Regions from separate parts of the Homo sapiens genome. Here region 2 is linked to region 1. The links are contacts of gene promoters, found by promoter capture Hi-C in human tissues and cell types (Jung and others, 2019). All regions are on one chromosome and are shown on one strand. Each heading gives the region's core, a stretch centred on a gene start or on the middle of the fragment in contact. The rest is flanking DNA. Distances are from core to core; before and after follow the strand shown. Region 1 holds the start of EIF2B1 (eukaryotic translation initiation factor 2B subunit alpha). Region 2 overlaps RILPL2 (Rab interacting lysosomal protein like 2).

Region 1 (6,512 bases), core at 2,120-4,619:
GGAGTACAGTGCCACGAATATAGCTCACTGCAGCCTTGACCTCCTGGGCTCAAGTGATCTTCCTGTCTCAGTCTCCCACACAGCTGGGACAACAGGCGTGCACTACCACATCCAGCTAATTATTATTTTTTTTTTTTGAGACGGAGTTTTGCTCTTGTTGCCCAGGGTGGAGTGTAATGGCGCGATCTCGGCTCACCGCAACCTCCGCCTCCCGGGATCAAGCGATTCTCCTGCCTCAGCCTCCTGAGTAGCCGGGATTACAGGCATGCACCACCACGCCCAGCTAATTTTGTATTTTCAGTAGAGACAGAGTTTCTCCACGTTGGTTAGGCTGGTCTCGAACTCCCGACCTCAGGTGATCTGCCCGCCTTGGCCTCCCAAAGTGCTGGGATTACAGGCATGAGCCACCACACCCAGCCACTTGGCTAATTTTTAAATTTTTGTAGAGACAGGGTCTCACTTTGTTGCCTAGGCTGGTCTCGAACTCCTGGGCTCAAGTGATCCTCCCACCTCAGCCTCCTAAAGTGTTGGGATTACAGGCATGTGCCGCCGTGCCCGGCTCTAGGATGCTCATTTAATAGCAAAGAGCAGTAATGCCTTTCCTCCCTCCGTACTTTGCTTCCTGCAGTCCTGTCTTCTACATTAGGAGAATCTCTACCCCATCTTTGATTTCTGTGTATTCAAATCCCAATTACTCCTCAAAGCCCCAAACCAGCGCAAACTCTTTCTTCTTCATGACTCCCCTATCTCAGAGCAGAAGGAATGCCAGCCTCCTCTGCACTAAGCACCGGAATCTGCAATCCCAAAATCCCATTCCACCCTGACAACCACCCAGCAAAGGACATTTTCCTGCCATTTTTCATCAATTATAAGATGACCCCCACCCCTTGTTTTTTACATTGAATAGTTGTTGACATCTGGATGGTATCTTTATCATTAAGATTAGCAGCATTTTTTCTTTCTTAATGGTATATTAAATAAGGGCACATCTCATAATCAATATTATCTTAGATTAGCTGAAATATGATATATGGTATTCGTATTCTGCAAATGAAAGTAACTTGTCCTAAGTCACATATGGCCTGCTAACAAGTGGCAAGGCCAAAGCCCTGTTCTAAAGACAGATCTGCTTGACTATAAAGACTGTGGCTCTTCACTGCCCCACTGCCCACCTCTGACAACCCACAGCTCTCTCTTCTAATGACACTTAGCACTTACTATTTTATTTTACAGTTAGTTGTGCTTCTGATCTCTCGTCCCAGTCCTGCCCACTTAAGACTGTGGACTTCTTAAAAAATGATGGAATTTGCTAATCCTAGGATAAAATAATGTGTGTAAATCAGAACTGGTGTAGTGGCTCACGCCTGTAATCCCAACACTTTGGGAGGTCGAGGCAGGAAGATTGCTTCAGCCCAGGAGTTTGAGACCAGCCTGGGCAAAACAGTGAGACCTTATCTCTACCTTTTTTTTTTTTTTTTTTTTGCGACGGAGACTTGCTCTGTCGCCCAAGCTGGAGTGCAGTGGCACGATCTTGGCTCACTGCAACCTCTGCCTCCTGGGTTCAAGCAATTTTCCTGCCTCAGCCTCCTGAGTAGCTGGGATTATAGGTGTGCGCCACCTTGTCCGGTTAATTTTTTTGTATTTTGAGCAGAGACGGGGTTTCACCATGTTGGCCAGGCTGGTCTCGAACTCCCGACCTCAAGTGATCCACCCACCTTGGCCTTCCAAAATGCTGGGATTACAGGCGTGAGCCACTGTGCCCAGCCACTTTTTTTCTTTTTTAATAGAAAAACAAAACAAAAAAATGTGTAAATCACACAACAAAGCACCTAGGACAGAAGCACTTAATACAACTGTGTCTGCCAGACAGAAAAAGCGTTGCCTGTAAAGAAAGGTGTGCATCTATACACATGCAATGACCCTGTGAATTTCCTTCTTTAGTTCGCTACCTCATTTGTAGACAGGAGCAATGCCAGGCCTGCCTCCCTCACAGGGTTGTGGTATGGTTTCACATCAATTAAGAGAGGATGGACAATTATTACAGTTCCTGAAAGGACTCCCCTATCTCTATTCTTGCTCCCCACAGTCCATTTTCCACACAACAGCCACAGTGATCTTTTAAAATTGCAAACCAGATCATAACACTTTCTGGCTTAAAACTCTACAATGTCTTTGTATTGCACCTAAAAATAAAGGCCAACTTCTCTATCACGGCCAATAAGGCCCTGCATGACCTGAAACTGGCTGGTTCTCTGATCTCATCCCTCTAGCCTCCTTTTAAATCTTCAAGACATCTGACTCTGTATGTGGTAGTTTAATGTATGAATGAGTCTCCCCACCATCCTCTACCCGCAAGCTCTCCATTTCTCCCTTCTCAGTGTAACTTGGTGGCTCAATCTGCCACAGGGCCCATGCACTTAAAGTGCACTTCCCCCAGAACTTCACATAATCATTCAAGTCGGTTTCAATATCCTGCACTTTTCCTAGGCCCCTATCTAAAACAGCTCCTCCTCAATCCTAGTCACAATGTACTATTGTAACTAGGACCGTACTGTTACATCATCTTCATAGCTCTTTTCATCCTTTGAAAAATAATTTATTTTTTAATTTTTTATTGACGAGGTCATGCCCTGTCGGCCATGCTGGGTGCAGTACTGCCATAATAGCTCACTGAAGCCTCGAATTCCTGGGCTCAAGTGATTCTCCCGCCTCAGCCTCCCGCGTAGCTGGGACCACAGACACGCGCTACCACGCCCGGCTAATATTTCATTTTTTTTGTAGAGATGGGGTCTGGCTGTGTTGCCCAGGCAGGTCTCGAACTCCCGGCTTCAAGCGATTCTCCCTCCTCGGCCTCCCAAAGTGCTGGGATTACAGGCCTAATCCACCGGGGTGCGACCCGGCCGAAATTATTTTTATTTATTGTCATCTGTTTCACCCAGTAGACTGTAACCTCCACTAAGGCCCCTGTCTGTCACGATCTCTGCTAAAATCCAGAAAATAATGCCTGTACACAGGAGGCGATCCAAAACTATTTACTGAATGAATGACTGAATGCCTTGGCTACTCCTCTAAAGACCAAACGGATTCTATCCAGCCCAAAAGACACATTCCATCTGGCCAGTCGTAGCCGGACCGAGACAGCCGAGCCCCGGAGTCGAAGTCCCGCCCTGCAGGGTCCTCACCGTCTGAAACCATGGCTGTCCCAGCACCTCAGCGCAGAGCAAGTGGTGGTCAGGGGAGCGTCTCAAATCCTGCGCAGCCCAACGTCCGGCGCCGCCAAGTGACGCACGAGGTGCTGTGACTCGTGCCAGCCCCCTAATCTGCGGAAGTGGAGTGCGGGGAGTGCGCCGGAAGAGGGGTACGGAAGTGCGCCGGAAGTGGGGTGCGGAGGTGTGCAGCGCGCTGTCAGACTGGCTCGCAGGCGGCGCGGCCGGCGGACCCGTTCGAGACAGCGCGGGCGGCTCGGGTCCCCTGGGGCTCCGCAGCAGGAGGACGCCATGGACGACAAGGGTAAATCAAGACAGGCCAGGGCTGCTAGGCTACAGCAGCGCCGTTCAGGGGTCCCCCCAACCTCTCACATCCAGGCTGAGCTCCCGAAGAGATTTCTTTTGAATTTCAGGCTGCTCCGCTGGTTGTGTTTCCAGAGTCACAACTAAATCCCTCGCGCTGCTCTTGTTTTCAGGGATGCGCCCTGGCAGTATCTGCAGGCATCCCTCCCACACATACGCTCCTTCCCAGTGCCAGTCTCCTTCCTGCCTTGTTGGATCTGTCATTAAAATTAGAATGAATAAGGCATATTTGATGTGCTCATCTAGTATGGTTATTAAGTGAAAAACAAGGGCAAACTAATACACTTTTCATGTAAAGAAATAAAGGGGAGTGGGTGGAACTCCATGTATAATATTTGTAACATATATGTGTATGTGAATAGACATGTATTAGCATAGACTGTCTGGAGGGGTGCAGGAGAAATTGGCAAGATGGTTGACTCTGGGATCCTCTCAGATTTTAGGACCAAAGAGGCTGAAGAGAGAATGACTTTTCATCATCATTTACTCGGGCTTAATTTTTAGGCCTTGCACACCAGTAGCTTTTTTTTTTTTTTTTTTGAGACGGAGTCTCGCTCTGTCACCCAGGCTGGAGTGCAGTGGCGCAGTCTCGGCTCACTGCAAGCTCCGCCTCCCGGGTTCACGCCATTCTCCTGCCTCAGCCTCCCAAGTAGCTGGGACTACAGGCGCCCGCCACTACGCCCGGCTAATTTTTTGTATTTTTAGTAGAGACGGGGTTTCACCGTTTTAGCCGGGATGGTCTCGATCTCCTGACCTCGTGATCCGCCCGCCTCGGACTCCCAAAGTGCTGGGATTACAGGCGTGAGCCACCGCGCCCGGCCACCAGTAGCTTTTTCAAAATAAAAAAGAGCTCTTGCAAACAGCAAAGTGGTATTTTCTCTATTCCCATCAACATTTATTGCATCCCTGAAACCAAATACCCTAAAAAGAAAGTATTTTTTAAATTGTTTGCTTCTTAAAGTCAACAGTCATTAACAAGCTCTCTTGCCTTATAGGCTGCTAAATGAATTAGGTGAATCACTTTTTTCCCTTTTTCCAGAGTTAATTGAATACTTTAAGTCTCAGATGAAAGAAGATCCTGACATGGCCTCAGCAGTGGCTGCCATCCGGACGTTGCTGGAGTTCTTGAAGAGAGATAAAGGTATATAGAGAGTCATCTGTTAACACTCTGGGACTTAGGATAGTCTTTTTTTTCTTTTCTTTTTTTTTTTTTTTAAAGAGACGGAGCCTCACTCTGTCACCCAGGCTGGAGTGCAGTGGCGAGATCTTGGCTCACTGCAACCTCCGCCTCCTGGGTTCAAGCAATTCTCCTGCCTTGGCCTCCTGAGTAGCTGGGATTATAGGTGTGCACCACCTTGTCCGGCTAATTTTTTTGTATTTTAGAGACAGGGTTTCACCATGTTACCCAGGCTGGTCTCGAACTCCTGAGCTTAGGCAATCTGCCCGCTTTGGCCTCCCAAAGTGCTAGGATTACAGGTGTGAGCCACTGTGCCCGGCCGTTTGTTTTTTTTGAGACAGAGTTTTGCTCTTGTCTCCCAGGCTGGAGTGCAATGGCACAATCTCGGCTCACTGCAACCTCTGCCTCTCAAGTTCAAGCGATTCTCCTGCCTCAGCCTTCTGAGTAGCTGGGATTACAGGCATGCACCACCACGCCTGGCAAAATTTTTTTTTTTTTTTTTGAGACGGAGTCTCGCTCTGTCACCCGGGCTGGAGTGCAGTGGTGCCATCTTGGCTCACTGCAGGCTCCGCTTCCCAGGTTCATGCCATTCTCCTGCCTCAGCCTCCAGGTAGCTGGGACTACAGGCGCCCGCCACCATGCCTAGCTAATTTTTTGTATTTTTAGTAGAGACGGGGTTTCACTTTGTTAGCCAGAATGGTCTCGATCTCCTGACCTCGTGATCCGCCCATGTCGGCCTCCCAAAGTGCTGGGATTGCAGGCGTGAGCCACCGGGCCCGGCCAAATTTTTTTATTTTTAGTAGAGACAGGGTTTCACCATGTTGGCCACAGTGGTCTTAAACTCCTAGCCTCAGGTGATCCGTCCGCCTCGCCCTCCCAAAGTGCTGAGATTACAGGCGTGAGCCACCATGTTCGGCCAGGAAAGTCTTCTAATGACTCTTAGAAATGTAGAAAGTGAGAGATGCATGTTTGCCTGCATAAAGTAGTAATACAGCTCCAAGCTCAGCTTCTGCCTTCATTTCAGACCTTTCAATCTGGAGAGAGCTCTTACGTTGTCATGAAAAGGATCCCTTTCATAAGTGAAACAGACTTTGAATCGAGAGTGACTATGTTATATTGTGTTAACCATGATGCGTAAATTTCAGTAGCAGTTCAGCTTTATAAGTGTTTATTAGGCCTCCACCTTGTGCCAGATTCTGTACAGATGCTACAGGGAATATTCCAGAATAAATTCTGGTATTAGTATTATTTATTGTGATCCCCTAATTCAGCACCCTAAATGTAAGCATCTGGGTATAGCATGAAATCTTGTATAAGCAAAATAATAATGCAGCCTTTAATCTGAAGGGCTTGCCTAGAGACACATGTCTTTAAGGCAACCTCCAGTGTCTTCCCATTGTTCTTAAAATAACATCCAAACAACCTTAGCCTCACCCATACCACCTTGCAGACCTCATCTGCCGCTGCTACTTAATGTCTTTCCATGCCTCAGCCTCCCAAAGTGCTGAGATTACAGGCGTGAGCCACCATGCCCAGCCACCCAGCTTTATTTCTATGTGTGCTTGTTTACTATCCGCTTCCTCTATTACAATCAAAACTCCATCACAGCAGAACCCTACCTGTCTTGTTCACTGATGTATCCCTAGCATCTAGAATAGTGCCTGGTATATAGTATGTACCTAGTAAATATTCACTGAATGAATGAATGAATTGAAGATACAGGTCGGGGCTGTGGCCCTAATGTGAACATCACATTCCTTGTTGGA
Region 2 (7,456 bases), core at 2,183-4,682, 220 kb after region 1:
AGAACGGGAGAGAGAGGACTACTTTAGATTTGGGTTATCTTTTATCACAGCAGTGGGAAAAAAAACACAAGAAAATCGAGTTGGGAAGTCCTGGAAGGCTTCTGTGAGGAGGTGACATTCAAACTGATCACTGAAGTACATTAAAGACCGGAAGGAAGAGCATTCCAGGACAGGAGCAGTGGCTCATGCCTGTAATCCCAGCACTTTGGGAGGCCAAGGCCAGAGGATCGCTTGAGCCCAAGAGTTTGAGACTAGCCTGGGCAACATAGAGAGCTTTTTTGTAGAGACCTCATCTCTACAAAAAAGAATAAAATTAGCCGGGTATGTGCCTGTAGTTCCAGCTACTTGGGAGGATCTCTTGAGCACAAGAGGTCCAGGCTACAGTAGGCCATGGTCACACCACTACACTCCAGCCTGGATGACAGAGCAAGATCCCGTCTCCCACCAAAACAAAAGAGCATTCCTGGTAGACGGGACAGTAAGTGTAAGAGCTTCAGGCTACAGAAATTCCCAGAACAGGCCAGGCACAGTGGCTCACGCCTGTAATCCCAGCACTTTGGGAGGCCAAGGCGGGCAGATCACCTGAGGCCCAGAGTTCGAGACGAACCTGGCCAACATGGAGAAACCCCATCTCTACTAAAAATACAAAATTAGCTGGGCGTGGTGGCGCATGCCTGTAATCCCAGCTACTCAGGAGGCTGAGGCAGGAGAATTGCTTGAACTCTGGTAGGCGGAGGTTGCCGTGAGCCGAGATCGTGCCATTGCACTTGAGCCTGGGCAACCACAGTGAAACTCTGTCTCAAAAAAAAAAAGAAATTTTCAGAACAGAAGACCATGGTGACTGGAACAGGGAAGAGAATGGAGGTGGGATTGGAGAGGTGGGAGGGGCTGGGTCACCCAGGGCCACGTGGATTCTTTCTGGTGCTGACTGTGGGTTTTATTCTAGGTACGTTGGGAAGAGACATTGGATGGTTTTAAGCTGGAGAGTAACATGACCGTATTTATGTACAAAAAGCTCACTCTGGTTGCCTTGTGGAGAAGGGTTGGGAGACAGGGTCAAAGTAAGGCCAATGGGGGTGTTTCTTTTTTCCTTTTTTTTTTTTTGAGATGGGGTCTCACTCTGTCACCCAGGCTGGTGTGCGGTAGCTTGATCTCAGCTCACTGCAACCTCCGCCTCCCAGTTTCAAGCGATCCTCCCACCTCAGCCTCCCGAGTAGCTGGGACCACAGGTGTTCACCATCATGCCCAGCTAATTTTTGTATTTTTGGTAAAGATGGGGTTTCTCCACGTTTCTCAGGCTGGTCTGGAACTCCTGAGCTCAAGCAATCCGCCCGCCTCAGCCTCCCAATGTGCTAGGATTACGGGTGTAAGCCACTGCACCCAGCCTAATGGAAGTGTTTCTTCCACAAGGAAGGGTCTTCTGAGGTAAGATAATGAAAGAGCACCTCCACCCAGGTGTCCGAAGTGAAGGTGTTCATTTAGGACTTTCATTGGCTGTCTTGTTGCAAATCAGGCTTCCAGAAGGCATAAACTACTGGTTTCTTTCAGCGTCCTTCTACGGGAGCTTAGGACACCTAATTGGAGTTTGAGCCTAATAGAGCAAAAGTGAAATGTGTGTTCTGTGCATGAGCTAGCCTGAGGACATGTGGCTAGTGGCTAATGAGCGTGAGGCCACCCTTTCAGGGTCAGATAAACTTAATGAGCTACTAGAATCAATGAGTGAATGAATGAACGAATGAATGTGTTTTTTTGTTTTTGTTTTTGAGACGGAGTCTCAATCTGTCACCCAGGCTGGAGTGCAGTGGCACCATCTTGGCTCACTGCAAGCTCCGCCTCCCGGGTTTATGCCATTCTCCTGCCTCAGCCTCCCGAGGCAGCTGGGACTACAGGCGCCCGCCACCACACCCGGCTAATTTTTTGTATTTTTAGTAGAGACGGGGTTTCACCGTGTGAGCCAGGATGGTCTCGATCTCCTGACCTCATGATCTGCCTGCCTCCGTCTCCCAAAGTGCTGGGATTACAGGCATGAGCCACCGCACCCGGGTTTTTTGGGGTTTTTTTGCTTTTTCTTTTTCTTTTGAGATAGTGTCTTGCTCTGTCGCCCAGGCTGGAGTGCAGTGGCGCAATCTCGGCTCACTGCAACCTCTGCGTCCCGGGTTCAAGCGATTCTCCTGCCTCAGCTTCCTGAGTAGCTGGGATTACAGGTGTATGCCACCACGCCTGGTTAATTTTTTTTTTTTTTTAGAGATGGGGTCTCACTATGCTGCCCAGGCATGTCTGAGACTCCTGGGATCAAGTGATCCTCATCCTCTTGCCTCAGCTTCCCAAAATCATAGGATTACAGGCGTGAGCCACAATGCCTGGCCTGGACATATTTTTGAGTCAACAGCTGCAAGAGCTACTTAGAAATTTTACGGGGGTTGCTGTGCCCCTTGCTTTGTTCCTTCTGCTTACCCTGAACCCTCTCTCTCTCCACACCAGGTTCTTTTTTCGATCGGGGAAACAGACCTAGATCCAAGGCCACAAGTAAGGCTATGGCTCTGATTCTAGAAGACAACCTTCCAAGATGCCTGGCAAAACCACCTCCCTGTGCCACACAGACACACTAGGCCTGTGTATTTATTTCCCCTTCAAAGCAGACTGAGGAGGGAGGAGACGAGGTTCTCTTGGCATCACTTTCTCCCTGGCTGCAGAACTAGACACCCTTGAAGATTTGGCCTGGGCCAGTGAGACTGAAATCAAGAAAAACAGAAGGGATGTGCAGGGTGGGGGGGTCCACTTCCTGCTCCCATGTCAACCCCCAGGGCCTCCAGCGTGCAGACGCGTGTCCTACTCATCTGCTCCCACGGATGACCCTGGTCTTCAATGGTTAGCAGAAGGGAGAAAAGAAAGCAGGAAAATGTGCTATTGAGATTCCAGTGGTGACTTCACTGATATTTAGTGAATATTTGATTTAGCCAACATGCCTTTCTTTATGTGATTTTGTATTAAAGTAAAATGATTTTTATACTTTCTATAGCTTATCTAGAGTGGTCTCTTAGTTACGATGGTACACATGGTATATGTGTGTATATGTCATATATCTACATTTCATTGTATAATGAATCAATTGCATTCATTCAGTCTAAGCGATGCACGATTATCTGGTGTCACTATGAAGGGAAAGATTGCTGCAAACTAAAATGTTAAGAAGCTATCGATTTTAGGACTCATCCTGATTTCAGAGGTGTTAAGATGTGAACAAAATGCATTTAGGAATCAATGAAACAGAGAGCGGGTGTCTGCACTTCGCAAAGGAACTAATGAGGCTGCCGCAACCATTCCGTGAGCCTGTCTTCTTAGTAAATAACAGTGGCTTACTCAATGTGTTTCGCCTGCTCTGTGGATTATCTCATTTGTTCCTCATAACCTGGGGAGATGGGGACCGGTACCGGTGCACCAGTTTATAGATTTTTTTTTTTTTTTTTTTTGAGACGGAGTCTCTCGCTCTGTCGCACAGTCTGGAGTGCAGTGGCACGATCTCGGCTCACTACAAGCTCTGCTGCCTACGTTCACGCCATTCTCTTGCCTCAGCCTCCTGAGTAGCTGGGACTACAGGCACTTGCCACCACACTCGTCTAATTTTTTTGTATTTTTAGTAGAGACAGGGTTTCGCCGTGTTAGCCAGGATGGTCTCGATCTCCTGACCTCGTGATCCACCCGCCTCAGCCTCCCAAAGTGCTGGTGAGAGGTGACAGCGTGCTGGCAGTCCTCACAGCCCTCGCTCGCTCTCGGCGCCTCCTCTGCCTGGGCTCCCACTTTGGCGGCACTTGAGGAGCCCTTCAGCCCACCGCTGCACTGTGGGAGCCCCTTTCTGGGCTGGCCAAGGCCGGAGCCCGCTCCCTCAGCTTGCAGGGAGGTGTGGAGGGAGAGGCGCGAGCGGGAACCGGGGCTGCGCGGGGCGCTTGCGGGCCAGCTGGAGTTCCGGGTGGGCGTGGGCTTGGTGGGCCCCGCACTCGGAGCAGCTGGCGGGCCCTGCCGGCTCCGGGCAATGAGGGGCTTAGCACCCGGGCCAGCGGCTGCTGAGGGTGTGCTGGGTCCCCCAGCAGTGCCAGCCCACCGGCGCTGCGCTCGATTTCTCGCCGGGCCTTAGCTGCCTTCCCGTGGGGCAGGGCTCGGGACCTGCAGCCCGCCATGCCTGAGCCTCCCACCCCCTCCGTGGGCTCCTGTGCGGCCCAAGCCTCCTCCACGAGCCCCACCCCCTGCTCCATGGTGTCCAGTCCCATCAACGACCCAAGGGTTGAGGAGTGCAGGCACAGGGCACGGGACTGGCAGGCAGCTCCATCTGCAGCCCCGGTGCGGGATCCACTGGGTGAAGCCAGCTGGGCTCCTGAGTCTGCTGGGGACGTGGAGAACCTTTGTGTCTAGCTCAGGGATTGTAAATACACCAATCGGCACTCTGTATCTAGCTCAAGGTTTGTGAACACACCAATCAGCACCCTGTGTCTAGCTCAGGGTTTGTGAATGCACCAATCGACATTCTGTATCTAGCTACTCTGGTGGGGCCTTGGAGAACCTTTGTGTCCACACTCTGTATCTAGCTAATCTGGTGGGGACGTGGAGAACCTTTGTGTCTAGATCAGGGATTGTAAACGCACCAATCAGCGCCCTGTCAAAACAGACCACTTGGCTCTACCAATCAGCAGGATGTGGGTGGGGCCAGATAAGAGAATAAAAGCAGGCTGCCCCAGGCAGCAGTGGCAACCCGCTCGGGTTCCTTTCCGCATTGTGGAAGCTTTGTTCTTTTGTTCTTTGCAATAAATCTTACTACTGCTTACTCTTTGGGTCCACACTGCTTTTATGAGCTGTAATACTCACCCCGAAGGTCTGCAGCTTCACTCCTGAAGCTAGGGAGACCAGGAGCCCACCAGGAGGAACGAGCAACTCCAGACGCGCCGCCTTAAGAGCTGTAACACTCACCACGAAGGTCTGCAGCTTCACTCCTGAGCCAGCGAGATCACGAACCCACCAGAAGGAAGAAACTCCGAACACATCTGAACATCAGAAGGAACAAACTCTGGACACGCCACCTTTAAGAACTGTAACACTCACCGCGAGGGTCCGCGGCTTCATTCTTGAAGTCAGTGAGACCAAGAACCCACCAATTCCGGACACACTGGGATTACAGGCGTGAGCCACCGCACCCGGCTTTTTTTTGGGGGGTGGTGGGGACGGAGTCTTGCTCTATCGCCCAGGCTGGAGTGCAGTGGCACCATCTGGGTTCACTGCAATCTCTGCCTCCCAGATTCAAGCGATGCTCCTGCCTCAGCCTCCCGACTAGCTGGGACTATAGGTATATGCCACCACACTGGGTTAATTTTTGTATTTTTGTAGAGACGGGGTTTCACCATATTGGCCAGGCTGGTCTCGAACTCCTGACCTCATGATCCGCCCTCCTCGGCCTCCCAAAGTGCTGGGATTACAGGCGTGAGTCACCGTGCCCGGCCAGTTTATAGGTTTAGAAACTGAAACTCTGGCTGTGGAGCTAGGAAGCAGCTTGCCCAGGAGGCAAATGCAGGCCTGATTCCAAGGCCCGGGCGCGGAGCTGCCAAGCTTTATGGGTCCAGAGTCACTGGCAAGTCCTAATAATAGTAATAATTTACTGTATGCCTCGCCTGCATCATTCTAAGTACCTTTCCGATGCTGTCTCACATACTTTTGTGGGATGGGTATCACTATTGTCCTTGGGGTCCTCCCAAGGAGGTTAAGGCATAATGGGTGAAAAGTCTTGTCTAAGGTCCTCAGCTAGAAAGTGGTAGAAGCAGGACTTGAGCCCAGATACAAAGTCCACACACAGGCTTCAACCACTCTGCCTTCCAGGAAGAGCTGGTAGTGTTTAAGAGTCTAGTCCAGAACACTGTCTCAACAGCATCATTAGATCAGGGCTCCTAATCCCTAGAACCCTGTGTAACACTGCAACCCTGGCCAGGCATAGTGGTTCAAGCCTGTAATTCCAGCACTTTTGGAGGCCAAGGTGAGAGGATTGCTTGAGCCCAGGAGTTCGAGACCAGCCTAGGCAACATAGTAAGAACCTATCTTTACAAAAAACAAAAAATTAGCCAGGCATGGTGGTGAGCACCTGTAGTCCCAGCTCCTGGGGAGGCTGAGGCGGGAAGATTAATTGAGCCCGGGAGTTTGAGGCTGCAGTGAGCTATGATCACACCACTACACTCCAGCCTGGGTGACAGAGTGAGACCCTGTCTCCAAATATATAAATGCTCCCCTGCCTCCCTGTGGGGATAGATAGGGTAAGAGAACCCACTCAGAAAGAAAGGTTAAGATGGCCTGGGTGGCTGTGGTACCCCAGGAGACTAAAAAAAGTTACGGTGAGAAATGCTTGGACTGCAACTCTTGGTAAAATCTGATGCTGGCAGGTGGGCATTTTGGAAAATAAGTCCTTGGGGTGATTCTCCTAGAGATGGGCCTAGCTTGACAACAGGTAACAGAGCTGTGACGTCAGCTGAGCTCTGGCGGTTCTCACACTGCAGGATTCCAACTACAAACCTAGACCGGGGAGGAACAGGCTCAGAAGTAGGTTTTCGCCGGGTGCAGTGGCTCATGCTTGTAATCCTAGCACTTTGGGAGGCCGAGGTGGGTGGATCACAAGGTCAGGAGTTCGAGACCAGCCTGGCCAAGAAGGTGAAACCCTGTCTCTACTAAAAATACAAAAATTAGCTATTCAGGAGGCCAAGGCAGGGGAATTGCTTGAACCTGGATGGCAGAGGTTGCAGTGAGCTGAGTTCATGCCACTGCACTCCAGCCTGGGCGACAGAATGAGACTCCGTCTCAAAAAAAAAAAAAAAAAAAAAAAGGTTTTCAAGCCAAGTCTCAGAAGGCACAGGAGGTGGTTGCTGTAGCAATCATCTTTTATTTTATTTATTTGAGACAGAGTCTCGCTCTGTCGCCCAGGCCGGAGTGCAGTGGCAGGATCTCAGCTCCTGACCTCATAATCCGCCTGCCTCGCCCTCCCAAAGTGGTGGGATTACAGGGATTACCGTGCCTGGCCAGCAGTCATCTTTTACAATGAACAAATAGGGCTGGGCGCGGTGGCTCACATCTGTAATCCTAGCACTTTGGGAGATGGGCAGATCACGAGGTCAGGAGACCAGCCTGGCCAACATGGTGAAACCTCGTCTCTACTAAAAATACAAAAATTAGCTGGGTGTGGTGATGCACGCCTGTAATCCTAGCTACTCAGGAGGTTGAGGCAGGAGAATCGCTTGAACCCGGGAGGTGGAGGTTTCAGTGAGCTGAGATTGCACCACTGCACTCCAGCCTGGGCGACAGACAGACCAAGACTCCATCTCAAAAAAAAAATAAATAAATAAATAAAAATAAGTCAGGCACAGTGGCTCACGCATGCCTGTAATCACAGCCCTGTGGGAGGGTGAGGCATGAGGATCGCTTGAGGCCAGGG

What was found. Contacts are between HindIII fragments. The study calls those that stand out against the background at their distance.
Region 2: a contact is called between a fragment that was not itself captured here and the fragment with the promoter of EIF2B1 in region 1, in 1 of the 25 tissues and cell types used here (mesendoderm cells).

What each region holds. Positions count from the first base shown.
Region 1 is chr12:123,630,543-123,637,054 of GRCh38, reverse strand. EIF2B1 (eukaryotic translation initiation factor 2B subunit alpha) reads left to right here and starts at 3,369. Exons shown (of 9, transcript NM_001414.4): 1 at 3,369-3,510; 2 at 4,609-4,710. The coding sequence starts at 3,498. It overlaps GTF2H3 (general transcription factor IIH subunit 3), which reads right to left and starts at 3,226. Exons shown (of 13, transcript NM_001516.5): 1 at 3,183-3,226. The coding sequence starts at 3,195. RefSeq lists an enhancer at 3,153-3,342. The HindIII fragment of the contact is 12,225 bases long and covers 1-6,512 here.
Region 2 is chr12:123,410,947-123,418,402 of GRCh38, reverse strand. It overlaps RILPL2 (Rab interacting lysosomal protein like 2), which reads left to right. Exons shown (of 4, transcript NM_145058.3): 4 at 2,482-3,364. The coding sequence ends at 2,512. Among named protein-coding and RNA genes, the nearest start is that of RILPL2, 22 kb to the left of the region's middle. The HindIII fragment of the contact is 7,685 bases long and covers 1-7,274 here.